Regions from separate parts of the Homo sapiens genome. Here regions 2, 3, 4 and 5 are each linked to region 1. Evidence: promoter capture Hi-C in human tissues and cell types (Jung and others, 2019). All regions are on one chromosome and are shown on one strand. The core of a region is centred on a gene start or on the middle of the fragment in contact, and the rest is flanking DNA. Distances in the headings are between cores, read along the strand shown.

Region 1 (2,729 bases), core at 86-2,585:
AATATTTTAAATATATGAATGGCCCTTGCTTCTGAGCTCATTTCAAAAACCTTGTGTTCTGCTAGGTTACAATGGCTGATAGAAATGCTGAGACATTTTATAGGTTTTACACTCAAACATAGGTACACATACCCTTTCTCAGTGACATTTTAATATCTATGATCCTATTAATAATTGAGCACAATTAATGGTGAGAAATGCATTAAGACCCTGTAATTTTCATGTACAGCATGACAACTCAATTGACTTAAGCAAAAATAGTCTACCGGAGTTTGAGTATAAAAAGAGGGAAAATGAGTATATTAACTACCTGTAAAAATGCAGAGTAACAGATACTGGGTTAACTATACGAATTCACGTTTCCCAAGTGTTATATGTATCACTATGGCCCTGGAAATGCAAAAAGAAATAGTACCTTTGTGGAGGCCAACTGTTCATGATTTAGAATTATCACAAATGAATCAAATATTGGACATGTAATATCCCTCATCTCTATAACACACTAACAACCTCCTCTGGAAGAAATTATTCCCAATGCAAAATCTCAACCTAAATAATTTTAAATTCAGGTGGTTTTTCATTTCTACTCACAAGGCATTGTGTTGAGGCGGGCAGGAGTCGGTGGAGAACGGTTTAAATGTTTGGAATACCTTCTCTTCCCAGGAGAGTTTATTGCCCAATAATGCATAATATATTAGTTGCTCAACGCGGGGGATCTAGGGAGTGACATCTTGACTGGAAACACACAGATCTGAAAACCACCTCTCAGGAAACGTTGTGGGGAAGAAGAGCAACTTTCTTATCCCTGTCAAACTAACCGGCGGAACCAACCCCAGAACTAGCCGGAGGGCCTGGGGAGAGCAGAAGGCTGAAAGCAGCTCCTCTGCGCTCCGCCGAGGGTTCAGGCAAGGGTTTTCTTCTGGAGGCGGCATTGTTCCTCCATCTGCTCAGCCTCCGTATTTCGCCAGGAAACCCTCCCCGCTTTCTCGTAATCTGTTCCTTATTTCTTTTGTACCTCTCAGCCGATTTCCATGCTCTTGGTCTCTGTGGTCCCAGGGCACAGCTCTAGGGTGAAGAGCTGCAGTGACTGGGGCGCCGCTCTAAGGCTTTGGAGGCGACTGCACTCCGCCCGGGCTCTGGCAGCGTGAGCGCCGCACAGTCGCTCGCTCCCTTCTCTCCGGTCTCTCCGGCTCGGACGGGCTCTCCCGGCCTCTCATCACCCACTCCGACTCGCCTTTCCTGCCGTGTCTCCCCACGCCAGCTCCGCGCGCTCGGCGCTGGCCGCCCGGGCGCGCTCTCCGCGCCGCCGCCTGATCCTCGGCTTACAGCCGCGGCGCTCCCCCGCCCGCCCACAGGCCGGGACTCCGAATTGAAGGGTCAACCCTCCGCGGGGAGGCGGGGAGGAGCGGCGAGGAGAGCTGGGGCAAGTGGGGAGCCGCGGGTGGGGGGACTGACGGGGGAACGGGAGAGTGAGGCCAAGAAGAAAGAAGATGCATCTGCTCCGAAGACGCCAATGAAGAAAGGACAGAGGGGGCAGGAGTGGAGTGGGGGAGAGAACGCCCACCAGGAGGGTGGGCAAAACGGGCAATTTACAAACTGCCGGGGCTGGAGATGCCGCGCGGAGGAGGAAAGAGGTTAGCGGCACAGAAGAAGAAATGAGGGGAAGTTCCCACATCTCCCCAAAAGGTCACGTTTGAAAACCGTGTCCCTTGAACGGGAGTTAAACAAGCGACTGGCCATGGTGTAAAAGGTGGATTTAAAAGGAAATTTAGTGTCATGTACTTATTTAGACACGGCTTCGTCTCGCTCAACTCTGGCAAATTACCCTCCAAGTAAAATGTATTGGTTTTATGCAGAAACGGAAGGCGAATCTCCTCCACTGTGGACTCCTCCTGAGATTGGTTTGTTTGCTGGTTATCTTTCTTTTTAAATGAAAAAAAGCGTTTGGGAGCTTCCATGAACCCCAACGCTTAAAAAAAACCACCCAGTTTATTAAAGTTCATTATTTTTTATTGCTTTTATTTTCATCAGAGGATAGGGTGAGGGACTGGCATCTTCAGATGTTTAAAACACTTATTTAGGTAGCATTATTTTTTATAAAGGACACGATTTCCTAAAACCGCCAGAAAGGCTATTGGAAAACTCAGCTACTAGCCTGGGAAAGAGAGACGCATTTAAACTCAAATAGACGATTATACCTCCAGCACCCCCCACCCCCACCCCAATGGGATTGGAAAAGGGTTGAGTTTACAGAAGAGAGAGAGCAGAGAAGGGTGGGTGGAAGGTGGGGAAGGCGAAGGAGAGGCAGGGAATAGGAAGTTCTCGGCAATCCCCGGGATTAAGGTAAACGCCGGAGCTCGGCGGACGCAGGAAGCTCCCTTACCTTTCTCTCTAAGCCCCGTTTGCACCTGATCTGCAACCATAAATACTTCGTGGTGCTTAGTGTGCAGCCAAACGATGGCCAAATGTTAAACAATTCTTCACGCTCCCTCCCCCTTTTAAAAAACAGGCTCAAAAGAATGTTAATAGTGTTCTTGTTATCCATCGGCTCCAAAACATTCCGTTTCGTGGGGAGGAGAGACGAAAACCAGGCCCTTGGGCACGCGTATATGTATTTATATATTATGCGGTCGGTATATAAACATATATACGTTTCCTGCATGTAAATCCAAAATGAAAAGCACCACAGATGCTTCTGTAAACGGGAGGGGACAGCGAAGAGCAAAACT
Region 2 (2,729 bases), core at 70-2,569, 190 kb before region 1:
TACAATAAGATTCTAAGATGCCATAATAGCTTTTCTGACAACAAAAAGAGAAAAAGATTAAGGTGACAGCATCGTCTTCTGCATTACAAAACTGAGTATTTCTGCTATAACCATCATTACAACTAATGGCGAAATATTAGACAGCTTCTTCTTTATTTTGTTATTCTGAAGAGGAGGGCTGAAAAAAAATTTAACATTAACTATATAAGTTTTACTTTCTATTTATTCTGAAACTATTTTCAGGTGTAATCTCCAAATATTAATTGTTAAATCTAGAATCTACTTAGGAAGCCTGACTTCCAAATGAACAGGGAGGTGAAGGGGGCAAGAGGGGCAAAAATCAATGAGGCAGAATGTTATTCAAAAGTCATGGGCAACAGTTTTAATGTATATGTAAAATACCACAGGATACATTTTTAAAACCAATTGATGACCCTGTGATCCCACAGAAGAAAATGAATAATCACTCAAGAGCTCAGAAGAGACAGCCTGGTAGAGCTGATTACTTCCCTTGATATTAAGTTGATGATTTTGTCTGGAAGGGGCCACCTTTGGGTCACAAGTCATTGCTTCCAGAAGCAACTTAATTATGCCTGCTAGTATCTTTATAGAGAAGCTAGCACAACCTAAGAAGAGTGCTACAGTCTCAACTCATTCTTTAAGCTTATTTTTGTGTGTAGTGAGTTGCTCATGCCTGGGAAGAGTGGAAAATTGCCATTCCTGGTTCCCTGCTTAATTAAAGTCCAGTTAAAAAAAATCCCTTGTTGCCAGAGAATAGCTGCAACTTTGGCAGAGGCAGTGCTAAGTTTGAGTATGGCCCTGTGCCAGGGTGTGTCAATCTTGACCCCTTGGAGGATGATCAGCAGAGAGTGGGTAGTTAAACCTTTGTGTCCATTCAGTCCCAGGCTTTTGCTGGAATTGGCAAATACTGTGGTGACTATTGTTTAAGGAGTAGCTGTCTACTAGGAACTGGACTAAGACCACCAACGCCTTTCACATAAGGCACCGAACAGCAATAATGGTTTCCTGTCACTCCTGACCTGGCTTAGAGCTCAACCAGTGATCCAAAGGAGAAAGAATATCACACTAGCAATCTCCTTTATATATCTACATCATTTTCTTCCTTCATATAAAAGTTGCATTAGTACTAATAACAATAACAAAATTCAAAATAATGCCCTGTTCATGGGCCATTTGTGTAACACAAATAGTATATCAATATATTAATGAATAGAATAGAATATTAACAAGAATTTAATATACACATGGAATATAGGTTGCCAAATAAAGTCACCATTTAAATTCAAATTTTATAATAGGGAGAATGGGATTATAAAGTTTTACAAAATGGAAAAAGATCTTAAGTAATGACGAAAATCCCAAACCGTTATATTTTAAATCTTATTGTCTTATTGTTCACGTTCTACCTGTTTGAAATAACTTTTAGTAATTCCAACGTTCCCTGAGATATCACATTTTCTTCATGGAAGAAAATAGCTCTAATGTACCTTCAGTAAATTATAACAATATAAATAATCCTACTACACTTGTAAGTCTTGATCAAATAATTTATCAAAGTGAAGTATATAAACTCTATATGAAATCACTAAAAAGCCTCAGTTACTATTTGTCTCTAATTAATATTCAATTTTTGAATAGAATCCTTCCTCCCTTTGGAATTTTGTACATTATTTAAAATTATTTGTCAATTCAAATAACTACTGATTATACATTTTTTAAAAAGCAAAAATGAAGATCCCAGGTATTCATTACATAAAGAGGTTACATGTTTAGTTACTAACATCCAAGGCTAGAACACAAGTCGATTTTCATTCATTCATTCAATAAACGTTTATTGATTTCCAGTTATGTACCAGGTACTGTTCTCTAGGCGATGAAGAGAAATACACTCAGCTCCGAACAAACCAGACAAAAATCCCCTACTATGGTGGAGGTTATACAGACTACTAGTACAGTATTCCTTCAAAACAAAAAACGCTTTCCTTCTTAGATGTTGTTATTAAAGACCGTGGCGTGAAATAACAGGGACTTTTGGCATCAATCTTGTAGTAACATATGTATTAGAACACTTGGCACAGTTAAACAGGTAATGAAACTGGTGACTTTTTCTACCCATAAGAAAAAGAATAGATAACACTGTCACTTATGTGTAAAGTGTTGGACAGTAAGTAATACAGATTTAAATTAGAAATGACAGATGCACTGACTTGTAACATAATGGTTGCTGAAGTGAACTTTTATTCCTTTTAGCTCTATAGTTAACTATTAAATTGCTCAAGTTTTATTTTCAAGGTGTGAATATTGTGACAACCATTCACAATATTCACAACGTTCTATGCTGTAATCACTTTTTCTGGTCAGTTCTGTCATAGAAGTGGTGGTTGTCACATGGAAAAAAACTTTTACTAATGATAATCTCAACCTGGATTTTATCAACTCAATATTACTTGATTACATGTTTGAACTTGTTGATCTTCCAAGCATAGAAAGTATTCCATATGACAATATGAGAGTACTCATTGTGACTGTTTTTTAAAAAGCAATGACAATTTTCAATTCATTTTCAAACATTACAAGTAACCTCTTTTCTTCTCCTGTAGATCTACCATTCATTGGGTGTGTCAGGGAAGAAAAAAGAATCATTATGGTTACAAAAAACTGATGACAAACATTGGTATAAAAAACAGTATATCAATTGGATGTTTCCC
Region 3 (2,729 bases), core at 87-2,586, 150 kb before region 1:
GAAGCTATCTTTCATTTACTCAGGAAACAGGTAAGTATGAGTGAAAAGAAAAATCTTGATACTCTCAAACATATAATTTATCTGGATTTGTTATCTAGTTGTGTGAAAAGGGAATAGTTACAAACTATTTCAATCCACAATGATGGTGAACATATTTGTAGTCTTCAGTACTTTAAAAAACCAATGCGTAAACATGTTTTAACACAAATTTTTTTTGAAATGAAAGCAATTGTGGTAAAAATGACATAATATAGAAATATATATCCACAATTCGTAAGGAGTAACAATAGAACAATGTTTTTCAAACTGCAGTACGTAAGCCATTAAGCATGCATGAAATAGATCTAATGGTATATGGCCAGATACTTGAGTTATTTTTTAGTGGTACCGTGTAGAATAAATACTAGAATATGTCAGAGGACATTACACATAGCAAGGTAAGAATCATTTAATAGAATCTCCACTTCAAATTATATTCATATAGAAATAGATATACTTTCATATATATAAATATATACATATATACTTTCATACACACACGTGTTAGCGTGTTTGTGTTCGCTAGATTCTAATATTAAATACATATATTTCTTTCTACAGGCCTTGGTCAAAAGTTTCAAGCTGTTTCAATAGTATAAAAATCCAGCCTTCATTACCAAACTAAAATCACATACTGTATTTTCCTTCAGAAAGTTGTCTTAAAACTCATTGATGCCAATTAGCTCTACAGGCAGATCACACTGCTTCTATAACCACTACAGAAGCATCACATGATCTACAAAAAAAAAAAAAATGTGAGGTGCTGGTATCACTCTGGGTTCCAAGCACAGTTCCCAGTTTACTCTAGTTTCCTCATGCTTTCTCTTTCACTTTTTCATTATAGTAAGGCATACACGATTTAAAAGTCTGGCTGATCTATAGGAAGCATTTCAGAATCATTTTACATAGGTTTTTGTATCTTCGTCTGCCTTGGTCAAATGTCATCAAAGCTTCTTTGATATATTGACCAGAAATTAATTTTAGAGAAGCACAATAGATTTACAGCCCCTATTTGCAAAGGCAATAAACTATGAGGTCCAGAGAAACAGTGATTAACAAGGTGGCTGCATATGGTAAGTGAAGGGCCAAAAGTGTTTGGTTTTGGTAGGCACTGGCTTGGAACAAGTAAAATAGAGACAATCTCAATGAACTTTTTGAACTTTTGAGTGTTAGAGAAAGAAGTAAATGCGTAAGTAAATTAACGAATAAGTTATTATAGTGGGAGAAAATGATTGTGGGGAGGGAATGAAATACCTTAGCACTACTCCCGAGATAGTGCTTTGAGGAAAAAAAAAATTAAAACATGTTCAGGTTTTGTTCTTATAAGCCATTAGAAGGAGACATCTGGCCTCCTTACCAAGACTTCCGTTCCTACCCCCCTGTAATAGAAATTGTACTCCTTCCTGCTGGCCCAGAATTGTAATCAGACCACCTTCATTTTATATAGACCCCAAGAGAGTACTAACAACTTCTGATTGCTGATAGCCTGGGAAGAATTCAAACCACTAATCCATTGTCTGTAAGTACTTTATTCTCATCCCAATGCAATAAACAATCTAATTCGCTAAAAGCTGACACATAATACCTAGTATGAAGAGAAGAACTTATGTTTAGTAGCAACCTGAGGAAAAATAAGTATATAAGATCAACAAAGAAGCATCAGTGTGGTTCATTGGAGATCTGGGACTGCATATCTGGATATAATATTGGATAAATTGAGAAAATTAGGGCAATCATGGATCAAAAGTTATAACACAGCATTTTTGTGCGTTGCAGAGACCCTTCAGGGAAACCCAGGCTCCGCAGCACATTCATTTATCAAAGGCATAATGACCCGATAACATTCTTCTGGAGACAGTGTGGAAACTATTTCCTTTTTAAAGGAAAGGCACCTGTGGAACTAATTAGGATGAAGTACTTCTTTCAGAGTATGCGCTATAATCCTGTTGAGTGAATGAAAGATTTACAAGACTGTAGTTCATAATGATAGAGAACTCAAATGACAGTTGATGGTGGTCTGTAGTAAGAAAACAAGATTTGGAGAGATTCAGACTAATATTCGCTGAAGTAGTCATGAGAAAAAAAATAGCAATTTTACCCAAGAATAATTTAAATAATGCAAGTCTTTCGAGTCCCAAGTTTAATTAACAAGTATGCCAAAGTGGAGTATCTCCAAAATGAACATCTTACTTATAGAAACATGGGAATGTTCTGAAAAAATGGGTTCCTCCAGGGAGTAAGCAAGGGACTTATAATAAGAGGGCACATTATTATTTTATACTGTTTAATTTTGTACTCATTGCTTTTTTATGCATATGCACATATTACTTTCTAAGTTATAAATAATATTTGCAAGGAAATAGTATTTCTCATTATAATCAAGAATATAAGATATTTAATCATTTTCTTCTTCATCCAAGATATAGAACATTGGTGGACACTGCTCAACTTTATGTGTATAAGTAAAAGCCTGTGTAAAGGAATGATTCTTGACAGTTGTTATCATTTCATTATCAGTTGAACAATAATCCATGAATTTAATAGCGCAGCCCAGCTGCCAAGGCTTATCATACCTATACATAACAGACAGAGGAAATATAGCGGAATATTAGAACTATAGCCTGGAAAAATTCAGAAACCTCAGATCTAGTGGAATATAATTTATGTGCATTTTTCTTTTTTGTTACTCC
Region 4 (2,729 bases), core at 81-2,580, 160 kb after region 1:
ATAAGGGAAAGAAAAACACAATAGCAATTTCACGAGAAAGCACATGACTAAATTAAGCCAAAGAGAAGGCCACGGAATGAATAAATGTCATTTATAGCACTATGTTCACCCACAGCTGACAGTATCCAGCATTATTAGTTCACATTCTATTCTAGTGCACTTTGCATTTTACTGCTATTACTTTTGGTAAGATGTAATCTTAACATGTTGGTTTTCTTAAAAAAGTATGAACCAAAACAATATAGGCATTATGTAAGCATTATTCTCTTATTTACCAATCTTACATGAGCTAATTCTTGTTACAGAACACTAGCAGTAGCAGAAATCTTACCATATATAACAATTTACTACTAGAGGGGAATTAATAGCCTTAAATGCCTTTATTAGAAAACACACGGAAACTTAGTTGGTATTTACATAGGCTGAATCTAATCAGGAGAAAGAAATCAGGGGAAGTTTAAAATCATTTTGATATAAAGAATTATTGATTATGATAGAAGAGTTACCATAATGATAGACAGAGAACTCTAATGGAAATTGATCCAAGGCCTGAGAGCGAGTGCCCAAGGAAAGACAAATTTGAAAAGATGTTCAAACCTTGTAGAGGAAAATATGGTTGTGGCTCAGTTAGTTAAGGAAAGAGTTTGCTGGATTGCTAAACCAAAGCTGGTCCTCAGTGGCTAGACAAGCAGGAACAACTCTCTGGAGTGCAGAGAAGTTAAAGCTGTGGACAGATATCAGATGGAGTTGAGGCATCACTGGGAAAATGAAGAATAGTGCTGTGTTTGTGTCAGGAAGAAAATAAACCTTCAAGACACAAACAAGTTAGAATGACAAATAGGCACTGAGAAGCATTCCGGAAGAGTGGGGTTTGGGGCAGTACGGAAGTGAAGAGTGAGTGGGCAGGGAGATTAGAGAGTGGAGGGAAGGAGGAAGTCACCGCAATGGTTGCTAGTGAAACCAGGAGCTGGAGAAGCCTTCCTCTACAGGAATCTAGCATTCTTCTTTTGTACAGTATGGGCTGAGTGATTCTGGGACAGCTTCTAGGAGTTAAGATTGGGAAGCAATGTCATTAAATGGCCAATCCACTGGGGCCCCAAGCCTGGTTCATGTGAGACTGAGGGGAGAGTGCAGGGAGTAGGGATCTTGGCCAAGGCTGTAGCCCATGCTATGTAAGAGTTTGGTCTGTGTTGCTGCTGCTTAAGTCAATGGCTGCAAAAAGCACACAGTAGCCAAACACTGTATAAAGCTGATCCCTATCAGCACCGAGCCCTGAAGATTCTGTGCAGGCCAAGCAGTGGATAAAAAGGCATATTCTATAGCAGTCGATGAGCAACCCTCTCCAGAAGCAGGAAGAAAAATCTTTCTCCTTCAATGTCCCTTAAGATCTCTCAGTAGGCAAAAGAGAAATATTTATAAGGCCAACTCCTTTTCTCTTTTTTTAAAGTGTGAATTTGGAGCTGAGAGGCAATAAATCAAAGACCATCACAGTATTCATCTTGGGAAGCTAGAAAAAGATAAATAAATCCAGAGAACATTGAAAGAAAACAATAATGAAGAAAAAAGGCAAATTCAAATAAATGAAAAATACAATAAAAGAATCAATAAACCTAAAACACTTGTTTTTGAAAAAACAACTAAAAGGAGCAAAGCTGTTTCAGGATTGATCAAGAAAAACATAATAAAAACCCATAATAAATTTAAGAAGTATAAAGGTAGAATTATAGCAAAGACATACAAATAAAATAACACTATAAATACATTTAAGCCACGACATTTGAAAACTTAAGGAAATAAAAAATGAAAAATTGTACAGCCACTTTGAAAAACAGTTTTGGAGTTTTTTAAATGCTAAACATACACGTCACATGACACCTTACTATTCTGCTACTATATATGTACCCCAAAAAGATGAAAATGTAATTAATCTAAAGACTTGTGCATAAATGTTTACAGCAGTTTAAAAGATAATAGCCTAAACCTGGAAATAACCGAAGTGTTCATGAACAGGTGAATAGACAAATAATTTGGAAAGAACTAGAATTATTGATATATGCAAAATCATGAGTAAATCTCAAAAAGCATGCTGTGTGACAGAAGCTAGACATAAACAATGTATACCATATGATTCTGTTTGTATAAAACAATGGAAAACAATCTGATCTATTCTTACAGAAGACATATCATTGCTTACCCGTGGGCAGAAGAGATGATTTGGTGGACTGGGAAAGAGAACAAGGGATTGTTTTAAATAATAAAAATGCTTGGCTGGGTGCAGTGGCTCATGCCTGTAATCCCAGCACTTTGGGAGGCTGAGGTGGTGGATCACGAGGTCAGGAGATCAAGACCATCCTGGCTAACATGGTGAAACCCCGTCTCTACTAAAAATACAAAAAATTAGCCGGGCGTGGTGGCGGGCCCGTGTAGTCTCAGCTATTCAGGAGGCTGAATTAGGAGAATCACTTGAACTGGGAGGCAGAGCTTGCAGTAAGCTGAGATCGAGCCACTGCACTCCAGCCTGGGTGACAGAGTGAGACTCCGTCTCAAAAAAAAAAAAACAATTCTTTATCTTGACTGTGGTAGTGATTATGTGAGCGATATGTTTTTCAAAACTCATCAAATTACACACATGTGATAGGTTCTGGTTATATTATATTAATTTATCTTATTAAAGCTGACTTCAGAGAAAATAATTACAGTTGCTACAAAAATGTAGGGTACTTAGCAAT
Region 5 (2,729 bases), core at 73-2,572, 130 kb before region 1:
AAAGTAATTGTATATTCTAAAAATGAAGAGCAGAGTAGGTCAAACACTAGCAAAAATGAAAGTGAGAATTTTAGAAGAAAGAACGATTTTAAAAGCTTCAGAAAATGGTAGAACTGGAAAATTATGTCAATTAAAGCAAAGCCCAAGAAAACCCAAAATACTTTTAAAAACTCATTTTAAAAAATGAGCATCGAACAGTAAAAATAATTTTAACTAAAGCAAAGAGCATTTAAATATAATTATAAACTAAATGACAAAAGAAAAATGATGAACTATAAAGAGCCTAGAAAGTAATTATTTAAACTCTGTTTTCAGAATTAAAACAAAAGAGCAGGCATTTGCTCAGCATCAAATCAGATTTTTTAGTAGAAAGGTGAAAAATTAAAGAACCATCAGATTAACACTTTAAATAACAACTCAATAATGTTTTCTCTGCTGATAGAAGACCAACGCCAACAGCTTTCAATAAAAAGTACTAAATTAAGTAAATATGATGAAAATTTTTAATTCACTCATATGGTTAAATATCTGTAAGTAATTTAACTAAACTCACCTCAGAAAATTACCCTCACGAATAGCTTTTATGTTTGAGGGTGATATCTACTACTTTCCAACAGAAAATATCTCTCCCCTAGGTGAGTTTAACTTCTGTTTCATTCATCCACACCCTCTCTCTTCCAGGACGACAACACATAGAACTCATCAGTGTCCTTTATTCCTTCCTCTCATTGACCAAATGGGGATCATAATACCTACCTCAGAGTCACAGTGGGAATGAAAACAAGGCTGGTGCAACTAGGCACACAGAAAGTGCCCCATAAGGTCGGGCATGGTGGCTCACGCCTGTAATCCCAGCACTTTGGGAGGCCGAGACAGCAGGATCACTTGAGGTCAGGAGTTCAAAACTAGCCTGGCCAACATGGTGAAACCTTGTCTCTACTAAAAATACAAAAATTAGCCAGGCATGTTGGTGTGTAACTGTACCAGCTACTCAGGAGACTGAGGCAGGATAATTGCTTGAACCCAGGAGGCGGGGGTTGCAGTAAGCTGAGATCGCGCCACTGCACTCCAGCCTGGGTGACAGAGTAAGACTCTATCTAAAAAAAAAAGGAAAAGAAAGTGTTCCATAAGTTAGGAACATGGGAGTTGGGGAATTACCTAGTCCATTTCTACACCACTGACACCTGACCACTCCACCCAGGGCTAGAGGCCGGTCAACCCAACCAGCCAACTCCACCACAGCTAATACCCAGCCTCACGCACATCCTGAAAGGTATCCTCCCCTTCTCTACACAAAGTAGCAACATTACTGCATTGACGAACAGGTTAGCCACAAAGCCGTCTTTATTGGGTGGAACAAAGAGGTTCCACCCCAAAACCGTTCCTACTGAGAGCTGAGGGTCAGGCATTTCCCACGGCATTCAGCTGCACTGTGGCCTAGAGATAGATGGACAAATGGTGTGGATCTGAACTAAGAGTCACAAGCCCCCAGGACAGGGGTGTGATAAACAGATCAAGTTCTTGCCGATCTAGGGCATGCAGCTGGTGCAGCCTCTTCAACCCCAGCAAAGATCTCAGTGCATTTAACCAGGAGCCCCCACTGTCACCCCCTTAAGTCTGGTGCTTGTGCTCTTCATTGGAGTATTCATGGGCAAGCCAGGTGGCCCAGATCTGCCCATCTTTGTCCCCCCTTCACCCCGAACAGGGCTGCCCAGCCCATCACATGAAACAACAGAGAGCACCTCACAGTAAACAAGTGTCAAGTACGTACTCACCTGCTTTTGCGCTGCTGGCTCTTACCCGGAAGTGCCACCTACTGGCCGGTAGGTCAAACCACACAATGCAATATAAAACCTGCCAACAGAAGTGCACAGGACCATAGAAGCAAAGCCAAAAGGCCCCTACCTAACATACTGTACAGTCACATCCTCAAGGTGGGGTGGGAAATAAATAAAATAAAGATAGATTTTTAAAGTTCCATCCAAACAAAAGTAACTTCAAAAGCAAGAAGTGTCAGCTTCCCTAGATGATAAGGATCCAGCATAAGAATTCTGGTACCATGTAAAATCTGAATGCTGTGAAACCATCAAAGGATCACACTAGCTCTCTAGCAATGGACCCTAACCAAAATGAAAATTCGGAAATTACATAAAAATTCAAAGTATAGATTGTAAGAAAATTCAATGAGATCAAAGAAAAGGTTGAAAACCAACACACAGAAACCCTAAAAGCAACCCAGGAAATGAAGGAAGAGATAGATGTCTTAAAAACAAAAACAAACAGAACGTTTGGAAATGAAAAATCCACTTAAATGAGTTCAAAATACAGTTGAAAGCTTTAAGAGTAGACTAGACCAAGCAGAAGAAATCATTTCAGAGCTCGAAGATTGGTCTTTCAAATTAACCCAGTTAGACAAAAGTAAAGAGAAAATATGTTTTAAAAAATAAACAAAGCCTTGGAGAAATATGGAATTATGTGAAGTGACCAAACCTATGAATTATAGTTACTCCTGAGAGAGAAGAAGAAAAACTAAGAAATGTGGAAAACATATTTGAAGGAATAATGCAGGAAAATTTCCTTGATCTTGCTAGAGATGCAGAAATTCAGATACAATAAACTGAGAAAACAACTGGATGTTACTATACTAGATGAATATCATCAAGGCATATAGTTATAAAGCTATGCAAGGTCAATGTAAAATAACAAATTCTAAAAGCAGCTAGAGAGAA

The links. Contacts are between HindIII fragments. The study calls those that stand out against the background at their distance.
Region 2: a contact is called between a fragment that was not itself captured here and the fragment with the promoter of NLGN1 in region 1, in 1 of the 25 tissues and cell types used here (hippocampus).
Region 3: a fragment that was not itself captured here is called in contact with the fragment with the promoter of NLGN1 in region 1 in 4 of the 25 tissues and cell types used here (H1 embryonic stem cells, adrenal gland, hippocampus and 1 more).
Region 4: a contact is called between a fragment that was not itself captured here and the fragment with the promoter of NLGN1 in region 1, in 2 of the 25 tissues and cell types used here (H1 embryonic stem cells and mesendoderm cells).
Region 5: a fragment that was not itself captured here is called in contact with the fragment with the promoter of NLGN1 in region 1 in 3 of the 25 tissues and cell types used here (H1 embryonic stem cells, mesenchymal stem cells and neural progenitor cells).

Annotation. Positions count from the first base shown.
Region 1 is chr3:173,396,350-173,399,078 of GRCh38, reverse strand. NLGN1 (neuroligin 1) reads right to left here and starts at 1,335. Exons shown (of 7, transcript NM_001365925.2): 1 at 1,016-1,335. RefSeq lists an enhancer at 2,567-2,729. The HindIII fragment of the contact is 5,603 bases long and covers 1-2,729 here.
Region 2 is chr3:173,589,713-173,592,441 of GRCh38, reverse strand. The region is part of intron 1 of NLGN1 (neuroligin 1); the gene reads right to left. Among named protein-coding and RNA genes, the nearest start is that of NLGN1, 190 kb to the right of the region's middle. The HindIII fragment of the contact is 5,962 bases long and covers 1-2,729 here.
Region 3 is chr3:173,546,548-173,549,276 of GRCh38, reverse strand. The region is part of intron 1 of NLGN1 (neuroligin 1); the gene reads right to left. Among named protein-coding and RNA genes, the nearest start is that of NLGN1, 150 kb to the right of the region's middle. The HindIII fragment of the contact is 6,570 bases long and covers 1-2,729 here.
Region 4 is chr3:173,236,458-173,239,186 of GRCh38, reverse strand. The region is part of intron 3 of LOC105374224 (a long non-coding RNA gene); the gene reads right to left. Among named protein-coding and RNA genes, the nearest start is that of SPATA16, 97 kb to the right of the region's middle. The HindIII fragment of the contact is 3,644 bases long and covers 1-2,729 here.
Region 5 is chr3:173,528,347-173,531,075 of GRCh38, reverse strand. All of the region lies in intron 1 of NLGN1 (neuroligin 1), which reads right to left. Among named protein-coding and RNA genes, the nearest start is that of NLGN1, 130 kb to the right of the region's middle. The HindIII fragment of the contact is 5,549 bases long and covers 1-2,729 here.